3 separate regions of the Homo sapiens genome follow, and regions 2 and 3 are each linked to region 1. The links are contacts of gene promoters, found by promoter capture Hi-C in human tissues and cell types (Jung and others, 2019). All regions are on one chromosome and are shown on one strand. The core of a region is centred on a gene start or on the middle of the fragment in contact, and the rest is flanking DNA. Distances in the headings are between cores, read along the strand shown.

Region 1 (3,482 bases), core at 1-2,500:
CACACATCCGTTGAGTGGCAGTGCAGGATTTGAACCAAGAAGTCCGGCCATGCGGGCCCTGGCCTGAATCCCTGTACTACAGCAGCCGTCTGATGAAACAAAGGCTGGGGGACTCTCCCCTTCCACTGCAAAAGGTTGATCTCTCTCCAGCTGGAGCAAGGGGCGCTGGAAGGATGCAATGACCCCAAAGGCAAACTGTGCCTCTTTCCTCTAACATTCCTCCGAAAAGTTGCGAAAGAGGTAGTCTCAGTAAGGGGTTAAGAACCGTAAAACCAGATTTACATGACTTGTGTACTGCATTTAGCATCAAAGCGCTGCACTCTGCCTTTCAGCAAAAGAAGTCTCCACCGCCCCCGCTTCCCTGTAAAAGAGGGAGGGCTGAATAACTGCAAGCCTAATCCGCAAACCCCAAGCTCCAGCCGCAGCCTCCGCATCTGGAAGGAAAAAGCGGCGGCAGGCGAGCCAGGGCAAGGGCTGGGCCAGGGCCGGGGCCGGGACCAGGGCCGGCCGCAGTGCCCGGCTCTGTGGCTCTGAACGCGGTTCTGGCCGCAAGAGTCGTCCAGCCCACGCTCCTCCCTTCCCCCTCCCTAAATCCCACCTCGAGTCCCGCGCCCTTAGAGGAAGTGGGTGGCTCTGCCCGGTCGCCAGCAGGGGATCGGCCCCTTCTCCCCACCGTGCCCCCGACTCGAGTTCTTCTGGGCACTGCCATCCTCTCGGTGCGTGCCCGTCTTCCTGCTGAAACGGACCCCAGTGGCTCCCGGGCCTCCCGGGCGCTCTTCCTTAGCCCCGCCAGCTTGAGGGCCGCGTCCAGAGAGCGGGGAGCTCCTCTCGGGGCGCCGATCAGGTCCCCGCGCCGCAGCCGCCGCCTCCGGCGTCTCCCAGGCTCGGCCTCTGCCGAGCCCGCTGCGGTCCACGTGGCTTGGCAGAGCTAAATTCGGCTTGCAGGAAGCCCGGAGCCAAGGGAAAGCCGAGCCAAGTTGGGGTGGGCGGGGCCGAACGGAGGCGCAGAGTCGGGAGGGGCGGGCACTGGGCGGAGGAAGGGGAGGGCCGCGCGCAGGGGAGGCGGTGGCTGGGCTCTGGCGCGCCCTGGCACCCGGCCCCGGCCGGCCAGGGAAGGCGGCCCCTCCTCGGTCGCCCCGCCTTTCACTCCCGTTACACCCGGGGGAAGGTGTTCCCGAGCCCTCTCCCACCCTCATCCCGCCTCCTCGCTTCCTCGGCTCCAGCCTCCGCCGGCGGAGCCCACTATGCCAGACAGTTTCGACACTTTGCAAAGACAAAGAGCCCTAGACCGGAGGGAGGAGGAGGAGGAAGAAGAGCGGAGAGAGAAGGAAGAGGCGATGTGAGCTGGGAAGGGGGCAAGTGTCCGGGACACCCACACCCCTGTATTCTCCTCCGAACCCCTTCATGCCCAAATCCCGGAAACTCCAGCGTGTCTCCAGCCGTGGTGAGTGCGCGCGCGGAGGCGAACCCTGCTCGGGGTGCGCGGGGGCTGCGTCCGCCTGAGTTGGGGCTCGGGCAGTTTCCTGTGGATTCTCGGAGTGGAAGGTTGATTGTCTGGACCCGGGAACTGAAGGGGTGGGGAGGGGACTAGGAGGGTGTGACAGTGGAGCTGGGACTGAAGACCCCGGGATTCTAGTGGAAGACATTCGAAGGGAGACCCCTTCCTTGGCAGCGGCGACCACCCAGGGCTTTGGGAGAGGAAGAAGGTCGGGGTGGAGGTTCGGGCTTAGGGGTCTTCGGCCGACACTGGAGGAGCTGCCTGGAGCTCTGTGGGGAACCTACGCCAAGTCCCGGGCAGCGGTTCCCGAAAGCAGCCCCAGTGACATTGCACCCGGCGCCGGGCTGGGATCTCCTCCGCTGGGGCCGCCCGTGGGAGGAGACCTCGCTGGGTGGCCGGGCTCAGGCGCTCTCGAGCGGATTTGGGGTCACAGGCTGGGACACCGCGGAGGCCGCCAGTGTTCTGGACGAGCGGCCGTGGGACAGTATCCGGATCGAGTCCCCCAATCCGCTGCAAGCAGGCGCAGATCCGGGAGGTGGCTATCGGCCCCGGGGACGCCGTCAGAGCGCGCTGCTCCGGATCTGGGGGTGAAGTTGACACCCGGGACAAGAGAGCTGAACGCGGCGTGGCGGACAGTGGGGGACGCGGGTGGGCCAAGGAGAGCACGGCCGGAGTCGTGTTAGTGGCAACTCGAAACTCTGAATCCGCCCCAACCCCGTGAGGCGTCGCAGCTCCCAAGAAATAATCTGACAAAAGTTAGCAACTTGCCTGTGTCTCTCGTGTGTGTGACCTGCGTGGGGGCAGGGCCACCCCTTCTGGGAGCGCACGGGGACGGACAGCGGTGACCCTGGGGCGAGGCGCTCTGGTGAGGGTACAGTTAGTTTGGAATCGGGACGGTGGCGCAACTTTCCGCTCCTCCTTTCTCTGCGCGAGTGTTTAAGCGTGACCTTGCGGGAGGAAGCGCGGCTGAACTTGAGATGGGGGTTGAGCTTGCGCCCCGGCTTGGCACAGAGACGTCGGAGCGCGCATTAGCCTGGCCTTGCAGCCGGGTCTCCCAGGAAGCGTGTGGGGATCGTCTGGCTCTGCTCGTCAGCTGGAGCCCTGACTCGCTCCTCCCTCCTACGCTAGGGTCCTCGGCGGCCGTACCATGCGCGGGGCTCGGTGGTGTGTTGGGCGAGGGGACACGTGCGCACCCAGAAGCGCGCAAGGGGGTGGGGGTTGGGCAGGTCACTGCGTCTCGCGGGCTGGGCGAGTCCCGCAGAGGGAGTCAGCCGTGACCCTGAGGGCAGTGACTGGCTCGCCGCGTCCCTGCATCAGGCATTCGCCCGGCTTTCTCGTGATTGTTTCCGGGCACCCCTGGCCTCTCCCGACTTCTCCCCCTCGCGGGTCCCCAAGCCCCGCAAGTTTGCGACGAGCTGGTTCTCCAGGGAGACAGCGAGCGCCCACCCCCGCTCTGCGGCTGGGTGTGTGTGGTGAGAGGAAGAGACGGGAGGAGGAGGCGAGGCCGACTCGCCAACGAGGAAAACGGGGTGAGAGGGGAGCCGGGTTTTCCAATAGTCGCCAGGGCGCCTGGCACGTCGTAGGTGCTAACGCAGTGTTCATTGACAAGGCCCCAAGGTGGAAGGTGCTGGCAGGGGCCCGGACGCCCCCTTCTTCCCTTCCAGTCTCTAAAATGGAGTTCAAATGTATCGACCAAGCCCTTTAGGCTTCTAGACGTGCCTGGAGCACCTACTACGTGCGGGGGCTCTACTCCTGGCCTGTTCGTAGAAGCTGCGGGCGGAGCCTCCTGATTTTCTTTACCCCGCGCTGCCCAAGCGCCCAGAGGCTTCGAAAAGGCAAGGTGCACTGCCCCCTGCCGGCTGCTGTGGAAACTGCCGCTTGTCTCTGCGGTGGGGAAGGGGCGCCCAGTGCGGGGGTCCCTCAGTGCCTTCCCGCACCTCCCCTTCCTGCCCCAAACATTAGGACCCCTGCCGGCTGTTTTCTG
Region 2 (4,712 bases), core at 887-3,386, 1.1 Mb before region 1:
TTCTGTTAATAAGCCACCCAGTTGTGGCATTTTGTGATAGCTACTCAGATGGACTGGGACAGGGCCTTTGGAAGGATTTGGCTTCTTGACACTTTCCATCTTTAGGCTTGATGTTCCTCCTTGCGTGCTGACCCCATTTCTCTGCCCTACTGTAGCTGAACCCCACCCCGTCTTGCGCTGCCTGCTCCTAGTAGGCATCTGCATCCTGATGTCCTGCCCACAACCACCTGATCCTGCCCATCAGACCTGTCCTTGCTCCCTTGGGGGCACATCTGCCTCCCCTGTCTCTGTTGTTGGCCATGTCTAGTCAGTGATGGTGTCATGCCTGCTTGGCCTGACTCCTCTGCAGATCTGTGTCTCAGGCCATCATCTCTGCTCTCATCCCTGGACAGGCTCTTTGGTGTCAGTCCCACCCGTCTTGGGCCAATGTACTCCTTCCTTCTCCCTCCCTCATTCCGCCATGGCCACTTGCTGTCCTCCAGGTGCACTGAGGTGTCCAAGGCTAGCCAGATGCTGTTTCCAATGACCTCACATTCTAGGGGGAGCCATGTGATGGGGCCATTGCAGAATCCAGGGTGTGGACACGCAGGGGAGCTGGCACAGCTCAGGCACGTGGGGCCTCTCCTTCAGGGCCAGCCCCTTCAGACAGTTTCTCCTTGCCTTTGCTCTGCTGGTGGACTGCTGGCTCTCTCAGGAGCTGCCAGTGCCTGCCCAGTGACTGTGCTGGGGATCTCTGTCCCTGTGGGCGCAGGTCCCTGTGTTGTCAGCAGATCCACTCATTTCCCTCCCTCCTGCCTCCACGACACTCTGTGTGTTTCCTCCCTGAGCCTGCATGTCTCCTGCCCACGCGCCCTTCCTGGAGTTTCACTGCCCTGCAGCACTGAGCTCTGGTTGTCTCTCGGCTGAGAAGCCTCTCCTGTCCATGGCAGCCTGTCCAGATCGGTATCCACCCCACTCTCATGGCCCACGTCACGTGGCGGAGCCTTCTGTGATGTGAGAATCGTTCCAGGTTCCTGTGTTTGTCTCTGCCTCCACCTCGGGAGCTCCAGGTCCAGTTTCCCTGCCTGAGAGAGCTGAGTACACAGACACATGTGTTAATGCAAATTCATAACAGATGGCCAAGGCCAGGTGCCACCCAGGGTCCTCAGGCCTTCAGGTGGTGTGGAATAGCTGAGCAGTAGTTTATTTCCAGTAGTCTCCAACACTTTGTCATATACAAATGCAAAATAGTTTTATTTATGTAATCTCTGGGCAGTGCTTTGTGTACCTTTGAACTAGGAGACCCATTGTAATAGCCCTGTGGTCCCCAGAAGTTCAGCTCTGTTACATGTCACAGAATTCCCATTTTCCTGAGAGCATCCTAGGAACCAAGAATACTTACAGGTATTGGGAAATAATTTCAGTAAAAACATTACATGAGATTGTTCTGTGACATGTCTATAAAATAATTTCAGTAAAAACCATTACATGGGATTGTTCTGTGACATGTCTATCTGTTCAGTGATGTGGTGGCCTCCTCTTGTGGCAGGGCCTGGACCTCATGCCTGATTCATCTCTGTCTCCAGTGTCTGGGGTGGGGCCCACCTGTGGTTACTGCTCAATGGACACTGAAATGAACACAGTTGAAGTTGATATGTGCTTTGGGGATTACGCTCTTTGCTGTAATGAGTTTTATTTCAGATGCTGCTGGGTGTAGAGTCTTAAGTATTTTAGCTATAACTTGGAGGAACTCAGCTCATGGGCTGTAGCCAAACATAACTCCTGTCAAATGCAGGTAGGAGAGAATCTGGTCCCTGCCTCTTGCCCATAATGACTTGAGCAAGTTGCTTTTCCTCTCTCGGCCTCAGTTTCCTACCTTTGGACTGGGGATTACAAACCCTTTCTGCCTAAATCATTGGATTATTGTAGGATTAGCAAGAAGCACATTGGAAACAACTTGGCCTCCTATAAAGAAAAATGTATTACTCTAATCTCTTCTTGTTCGGGAAGCATTTTGGGTTCCTTAGGAATAGAACGTTTCCTGGAAAAAAATAATATCGATTGGCAGTATCTGTGAGAGATTTTCATTGGCGAAGCAATGTTCTGCTTTGTTAAATTTTGATTTCATGTGTTGTTGGTAGGAAAGAATTCTCTCAGGTCGTTACCTCCCTGCTAATTCACGGAGAAAGTCTTTCTGTGAACCCAGGGAGGGGCTTGCTCCTGGGACTCCAGTGCCTTCCAAGAGCTCCACCTTCATGCCAGCAAGGCTGGGTTGGCCTATTGCCTTTCCTCATTTCCTCTTTCTGGTAGGAGAGTTTTACTGTAAAGAGGAGAGAAATGGGTTGGGGGAGTGGGGATCAGGAGTTGTTTTCATTTTAAGATGGGAGAATAAGAGTATGCTTATAGGCCAATGGAAAGATCTAGTACAGAGGGAAGAATTGATGACCTGGAGAACAATCATCAGAGAGGGTGAGTTCTGCACGCACAAGCCATCATGCACCCTTTGTCTAGTAGCCTTCTCACACAGGGATGTGGGAGCATCTTCCTGGGTGCAGGCAATCAGGCATGCGCTATCTTTAGAGAATTTGAAAGTAATGATCACACAAGTGAAGTGTTGGTCTGCTTTTAGTATCTCCATGAACCAGCAATTCCAGACAATATCAGAGATATGATAGCCCTGCTCTGGGGTGGGCCACTGCTCTCACCCGCACACCTTGTGTCCCCCTCACTATGCCCACCTTCAAACCAGCAGGAGCGAGGTGGGGAGACAGCTGAAGACGCAGGCGGGCTGGAAGGGGTGGCAGAGGCAGTTGTTTTCTGGCTGCTTGCAGTGAGATATGAAGCAAGGTCAGCTGTTGAGAGTGAGGAGCGAGGAGGATGAGATACTTGCTCACCATCACCAGAGAGCGCAGAGCTTGTATGATTGCCATGTATTTGTCCAGCATCACCAGGCAGTAAATGGCGTAGAAGTTGCATGTGACTTCCAGGCAGCGTTGAGCCTCCCCAGGAGGCTGGTGAGGGGGATGCCGAAGGGAGCCAGGTGTGGATTGCCAGCCGTCCAGCTGCTGGGCGAGGGCACACCATGGGTGCAGAGTTGCGCCGAGTCAGTGTTGTGCTTTCTGAGTGTCTGCTGGGTTCTTGCTGCTGAATAGGCAAGTTCCATCCCCAAAGTTCCTATGGATTCCAGCAACTGACAGATGACTGCTTCTCTGAGGTCCTCAGCTTTCCAGCATTTAGGGACGAGTTGGGAATTTAACCTGGGCCTTTTGGCTCCAAAGCCATTGTCCTTTTCAGTGGACAAAGCCACTTCCTTTCAGTCTGAATGTAAAAATAATAATACAAAGATCTGGCTTTTAATTGTTATTGAATCCTGAATTTAATATTTTGTATATACCTATAATTATTTTATCAGTCTAAAAAGTGAGTGTTTTATTTCCCTTATTATGTCTTCCTGCCTAGTATAATGAGATGAACATAATGAACTATTGGTAAATTTTTTGAACAATGAGAGTGCTTTAAATAGGAATTCAGTGGCTTTAAAAAGGCAACAAATTCCTGCCGTTTCATTGAAAGGTGCTGGGCTGTTGAGAAATGCTATTGTGGTCAACTTTTCCTTGTGCGTAATTTGAGAGAATCTAGCAAGACTGCTTAATTGCCATCAGTGTGCAGTTCAGTCATTTGAGGGGTAGGATTTAGTTTTTTAAGTTGCAAATTTTTTTTTTTTTGGAGACAGAATCTCGCTCTGTCGCCCAGGCTGGAGTGCAGTGGCGTGATCTCGGCTCACTGCAAGCTTCACCTCCCGGGTTCACGCCATCCTCCTGCCTCAGCCTCCCGAGTAGCTGGGCCTACAGGTGCACGCTGCCATGCCTGGCTAATTTTTTGTATTTTTAGTAGAGACGAGATTTCACCATGTTAGCCAGGATGGTCTCGATCTCCTGACCTTGTGCTCCGCCCGCCTCGGCCTCCCAAAGTGCTGGGATTACAGGCGTGCGCCACCGCGCCCGGCCGCATATTTATTTTTTACTTGGCTGTACTTATCCCAGAATCTGGGCTGATGAGTAGATTTGGGTAACAAGAAGGTTTGTATTAGACACTATCCAGAAGGACTGAGGGTTGAGATACTGAATAAAGAACTTTCTGGCCCCTGGATCTCCCTGAAGATGAAAGTGAGTGGCCTGCCATGGAGGTGACTGCCAGAGAGACACAATCTGGTAGAGGCTGGTGATGGCTCAGAAGGGCAGCTTTCGGTATTGTCTTTGGCAATTGGAAGTAATAATTGTTTATGTGGAGATGAAATAACATATTTTCCTTTTTTTTCCTTACAGAAAACACGGCCATCTTTATGTGTAAATGTTGTAACCTCTTCTCACCAAATCAGTCGGAACTCCTCTCCCACGTTTCAGAGAAGCACATGGAAGAAGGGGTTAATGTTGATGAGATTATTATTCCCCTTAGGCCTCTGAGTACACCTGAACCCCCCAACTCAAGCAAAACCGGAGATGGTAAGGGGGCTGGGGGGTGGGGCAGGATACCTTCTGACACACCTGTTGATGTTGATTTGCTCCGTGGGCATAGCAGAAGCCTAGAAAATCCACATTTCCAAATCAGAAGTCACAATAAGTCTCCAATTGTAGATATGCTCAAATAAGATTGTGCCTTTGAAATCCCATACCTAGCCCCCTGTAGGTTGGCAAATGAATGAATGAAAGAATGAATGGAAGTGGCAGTATTCA
Region 3 (4,257 bases), core at 46-2,545, 1.3 Mb before region 1:
TTTTTTTTTTTTGAGACGGAGACTTGCTCTGTCACCCAGGCTGGAGTACATTGGTGTGATCTCGGCTCACTGTAACCTCTGCCTCCCAGGTTCACGCCATTCTCCTGTCTCAGCCTCCTGAGTAACTGGGACTACAGGTGCCCACCCACCACCACCCGGCTAATTTTTTGTATTTTTAGTAGAGACGGGGTTTCACCGTGTTAGCCGGGATGGTCTCTATCTCCTGACCTCGTGATCTGCCCGCCTCGGCATCCCAAAGTGCTGAGATTACAGGTGTGAGCCACCACGCCTGGCCATGACTTTTATAATCACTTACAAAGGTTTCTTGAACTTGATGGAACTTGTGTTGGGAAATAAAGTTTATATTTTTAAATTTGTATCTTTTAATTCCATTTTTCTGTGAACTTTTGGAAGTCCCCTCATATGGTACATAGGTGTTGGAATAGTCATTGTCATGATCTCATTACGTTCTATAAGACTCCATCATAGCGAACATAAATAAGAGATTCTCCTGCTGGCCTTGAAGAAGTGAGCTGTCACAGTGTAAGAGGGCCATGTGGCAAGGAACAGCCAGTGACATCTAGGAGCTGAGAGTCGTCCCCAGCTACCAGCCAACAAGAAAATGAGGACGTTAGTGCTATGACTGCAAGGAACTAACTTCTGTCAACAAACGATGTGACCTTGGAAGAGGAACCTGAGCTGCAGAAAGGAAGGTAGCACAGCTGATTCCTTGATTGCAGCCTTGTGAGACCCTAAATAAAGGGCCCCTTTAACCCTGCTCAGATTCCTGACCCACAGAAACTGTGGGAAATAAGAAAGATACTTTGTTTTAGGCTGGTAAGATCGTAGTAATGTGTTACACAACATAGACATCTAATACAGCAGTTGACATTGTTAATCCCAGAGTCAGCATGGGAGAGCATTACCAAAAAGTAGAATAAAAAGAGGCATGAATAATTGGGGCTATTAATGCAATCAATCCGTCATACTTTCTAAGCGCTGGGGGTGGGGGCAACCCTTTGTTAAAATAGCACTGCACCAACATGTTTATATGCTCTACAGACTTGGCATTGCTGTTCTGTTTCTTATTTTCCAGCACTCATAAACAACCTGACTATGACAACTGCAGACTCAAAAAAGGAGTGAGCTGAGAAACAGAGTCAGTATACTGCATAGGAGCAAGAACTCTTGAGCCAGATATCATGGGTTCAATTCCCAGCTCTCACACATGTCAGCTGTGTGACTCTGGACAAGTTCCTTATTCTCCCTGTGCCTTAATGGTATCAATGAAAAAAATATTATAATACTATCCACTCTCAGGGTTTTTGTGGAAATTACATAAGTTAATTTAATATATGTAAAACACTTAGAACAGTGCACGGCACACTGTAAATATTACATTTGCCACATTATTCTAATTATTTTCAAATGATTAGCCAATATAACAATTACAGTCACTCCAACAGAATATTCAAGTAAGGAGAAACCCTATTCCTTGATACTACAGAGGAACACACATATTCTTTATGCACTTTAAAATACAAGACATGGCTGGGCGTGGTGGCTCACGCCTGTAATCCCAGCACTTTGGGAGGCCAAGGCGAGTGGATCACAAGGTCAGGAGATTGAGACCATCGTGGCTAACTCAGTGAAACCCCATCTCTACTAAAAAACAAAAAATTAGCCGGGCGTGGTGGCGGGTGCCTGTAGTCCCAGCTACTAGGGAGGCTGAGGCAGAAGAATGGCGTGAACCTGGGAGGCGGAGCTTGCAGTGAGCCAAGATCGCACCACTGCACTCCAGCCTGGGCAACAGAGCAAGACTCCGTCACAAAAAAAAAAAAAAAAACCACAAGACATATAGAAAAATATACAACTAATTACTTGCCCCTAAAATATATAACCAATAAAATGTCTTATAGAGAAGAACAAAAAATAAACAAGAACCTACACCATTTTCACAGTAAAATTTTTTTAGTACTGAAAGCCTCATAGAATAATCCAATTTTATTGAGATTTTGGAACTTATCATGAAGACTTACTAACAAATTCTAGTTCTTGCCCTTTCACTTCCAAGGAATATATCATTTAAAGCATAGTCTTTATAATGCTTGTAATAGAGCACACAATTGCCTCATTTTCGTAAGTCAAGGTGGGAGTTCTGCATTTTTCCCTTGGAATTAGGACAAGCAGTCAGGCTTTGGAAGGACAGGCAGTGCTCTTGGTGTCAAAGAAACTGGAGTCCTTCAGGCTCTACCACTTGCAACTTGAGGGAACTTCGAAACATGGTCAAAGCTGCCTGAGCCTCAGTTTCCCTGATAACATTAACACACCCTGCTTCACAAGATAAGAATAAAGACCAGAGGAGGCAAAAGGATGCAAATGGGGCTTTTAAAACAGCATGTCTAGTTAGGGTCCTATCAGGAGACAGAAACTCTACCGGTTATTTTAACAGAGAGACCTTGATACAAAGAATCATTAACCAAGTACTGGGTAGAAAAAAAGGGGGAGCACTAAGAAGTACAACAGCAGCAACTGTCAAAGCAGCTCCCAACCCAAGGGCTAGGAAACAGAAGAAAAGATCGGGATTATTAGAATGTAGAATCTCTGAGGAGGGAGGCCCTCTGGAGCTTGAACACAGATGTCTAAAGAAGGGGCTCCAGTTGGTATGTACTGGGGGTGCAAGGAGGCTGATCCCAGGAGTGTGGAACGCCTGCAACCTGAAACCAAGGGGACTCTGGAGTCCACTACTGCTGCTGGGGTCATTCTTGGACAGAGGATGCAGAGATGCCCAAGGCTTTCTTCCTCTCTCACACCCCCATCCAAGAACCTAAATTCAGAGCCAGTGGACAGGCTAGAAATGTGGTTTGCAGAGTCCCAGCCCCAGCATCATAAATCAGAGTAGCAAAGAGTGGGTTTGGAGCTGAGAGTCAGTAACTCAATGTCCAACAGAAAAAGATAAAGTATTAAACCTGTAGCCAGAGCCAGGTGTGGTGGCGTGCTACTTGGGAGACTGAGGCAGAAGGATCGCTTAACACAATAACCTCATTTTCACAAGTCAAGGTGGGACTCCTGCATTTTTCGCTTGTAATTAGGACAAGCAGTCAGGCTTTGGAAGGACAGGCAGTGCCTTGGAGTCAAAGAACCTGAAGGCATTCAGGCTGCACCACCTGCAACTTGAGGAAACTTTGAAACATGGCCAAAGAGCCCAGGAGATCAGGGATATAATGCACTATGAGTGCACCTGTGAATAGCCACTGCACTCCAGCCTGGGCAACACGGTGAGACTCTATGCCTAAAAAAATTTAAACACATGGTCAGCAATCTCCTGGTTACAGTGGCAAGCCCCTGCTCTCTGGGCCACAATTTTATCTGTAAAATTGCAACACTGGACTTAGGCACTAGATGATTCATCGCTAACACTGGAGCTTCTGAGAGTGTGACCCTTATAAAAACTTCAACAGGCTTTCAGGTTCCCCTTCTGGAAGGGAGCCTTTCCCTGGTTTATTTTTCTTTAAAAGAGAAAGAGAATGAGAAAAAGAAAGACACACAAATGGGTTTCCTGGAGACTAAGCTCGGATTGGAAGAGTCCACAGGTTCCTGGAATCTCAGGAACCAAAGACAGATCCCATGATTTCCAGGTGTGGGGATCACAGGAAGGGGCCTGGCCAGCCTGGGGATAATCTCCGGGTCTTGTGTGGACGTGCCAGACTTTCTCAGGCCCCTCTGAGAGTGACCAGTGACCTCTGAAGTCCTCATCTGGACCACTGGTGCCCACCTATTGTGCTCTTCCACACTAGCTTCTGACTCTGCCTGCTACAAAATCCAGCCACATGGACCTCCTGCCTCTTTCTCACACTCACGGAGCTCCCACCCACCTCAGCACCTTTGCACAAACCTTCTTCTTTCTGTCTGGAATGCCCTGTGTCAGATCTTTTCAAGCCTCTCATAATTCAGGTCTCAGTTCAAATCACCCTTTTTCTGAGAGACACCCATCCCTGCCTTCCACCTCTGGAAGTCCTACGCTCTGACATTTGACCTTGCTTCCTCTCCTTCATAGTAAATATCACCATTTTACATTTATGTAGTTGCTCACTTGTTCATCTTCTATTTTTCCCACATAGGATTAAGACACTGAGAGTGAGCCAGGCGTGGTGGCTCATGCCTTTAATCCCAGCACTTTGGGAGGCTGAGTCAGGCAGATCACCTGAGGTCAGGAGTTTGAGACCAGCCTGACCAACATAGAGAAATCCTGCCTCT

Evidence for each region. The method cuts DNA at HindIII sites, captures the fragments that hold promoters and counts their contacts. A contact is called where the count stands out against the background at its distance.
Region 2: a fragment that was not itself captured here is called in contact with the fragment with the promoter of ST3GAL1 in region 1 in 3 of the 25 tissues and cell types used here (dorsolateral prefrontal cortex, hippocampus and spleen).
Region 3: a fragment that was not itself captured here is called in contact with the fragment with the promoter of ST3GAL1 in region 1 in 1 of the 25 tissues and cell types used here (dorsolateral prefrontal cortex).

The regions. Positions count from the first base shown.
Region 1 is chr8:133,569,655-133,573,136 of GRCh38, reverse strand. It overlaps ST3GAL1 (ST3 beta-galactoside alpha-2,3-sialyltransferase 1), which reads left to right and starts at 1,250. Exons shown (of 10, transcript NM_173344.3): 1 at 1,250-1,444. ST3GAL1-DT (ST3GAL1 divergent transcript) reads right to left here and starts at 2,565. Exons shown (of 2, transcript NR_186509.1): 1 at 2,267-2,565; 2 at 1-2,079. RefSeq lists silencers at 501-560, 751-1,240 and enhancers at 3,031-3,250, 2,610-3,463, 3,421-3,482. The HindIII fragment of the contact is 11,226 bases long and covers 1-3,482 here.
Region 2 is chr8:134,657,330-134,662,041 of GRCh38, reverse strand. It overlaps ZFAT (zinc finger and AT-hook domain containing), which reads left to right. Exons shown (of 16, transcript NM_020863.4): 2 at 4,305-4,481. Among named protein-coding and RNA genes, the nearest start is that of ZFAT, 53 kb to the left of the region's middle. The HindIII fragment of the contact is 7,966 bases long and covers 1-4,712 here.
Region 3 is chr8:134,870,596-134,874,852 of GRCh38, reverse strand. The region is part of intron 1 of LOC101927845 (a long non-coding RNA gene); the gene reads right to left. Among named protein-coding and RNA genes, the nearest start is that of NCRNA00250, 35 kb to the right of the region's middle. The HindIII fragment of the contact is 4,143 bases long and covers 1-3,366 here.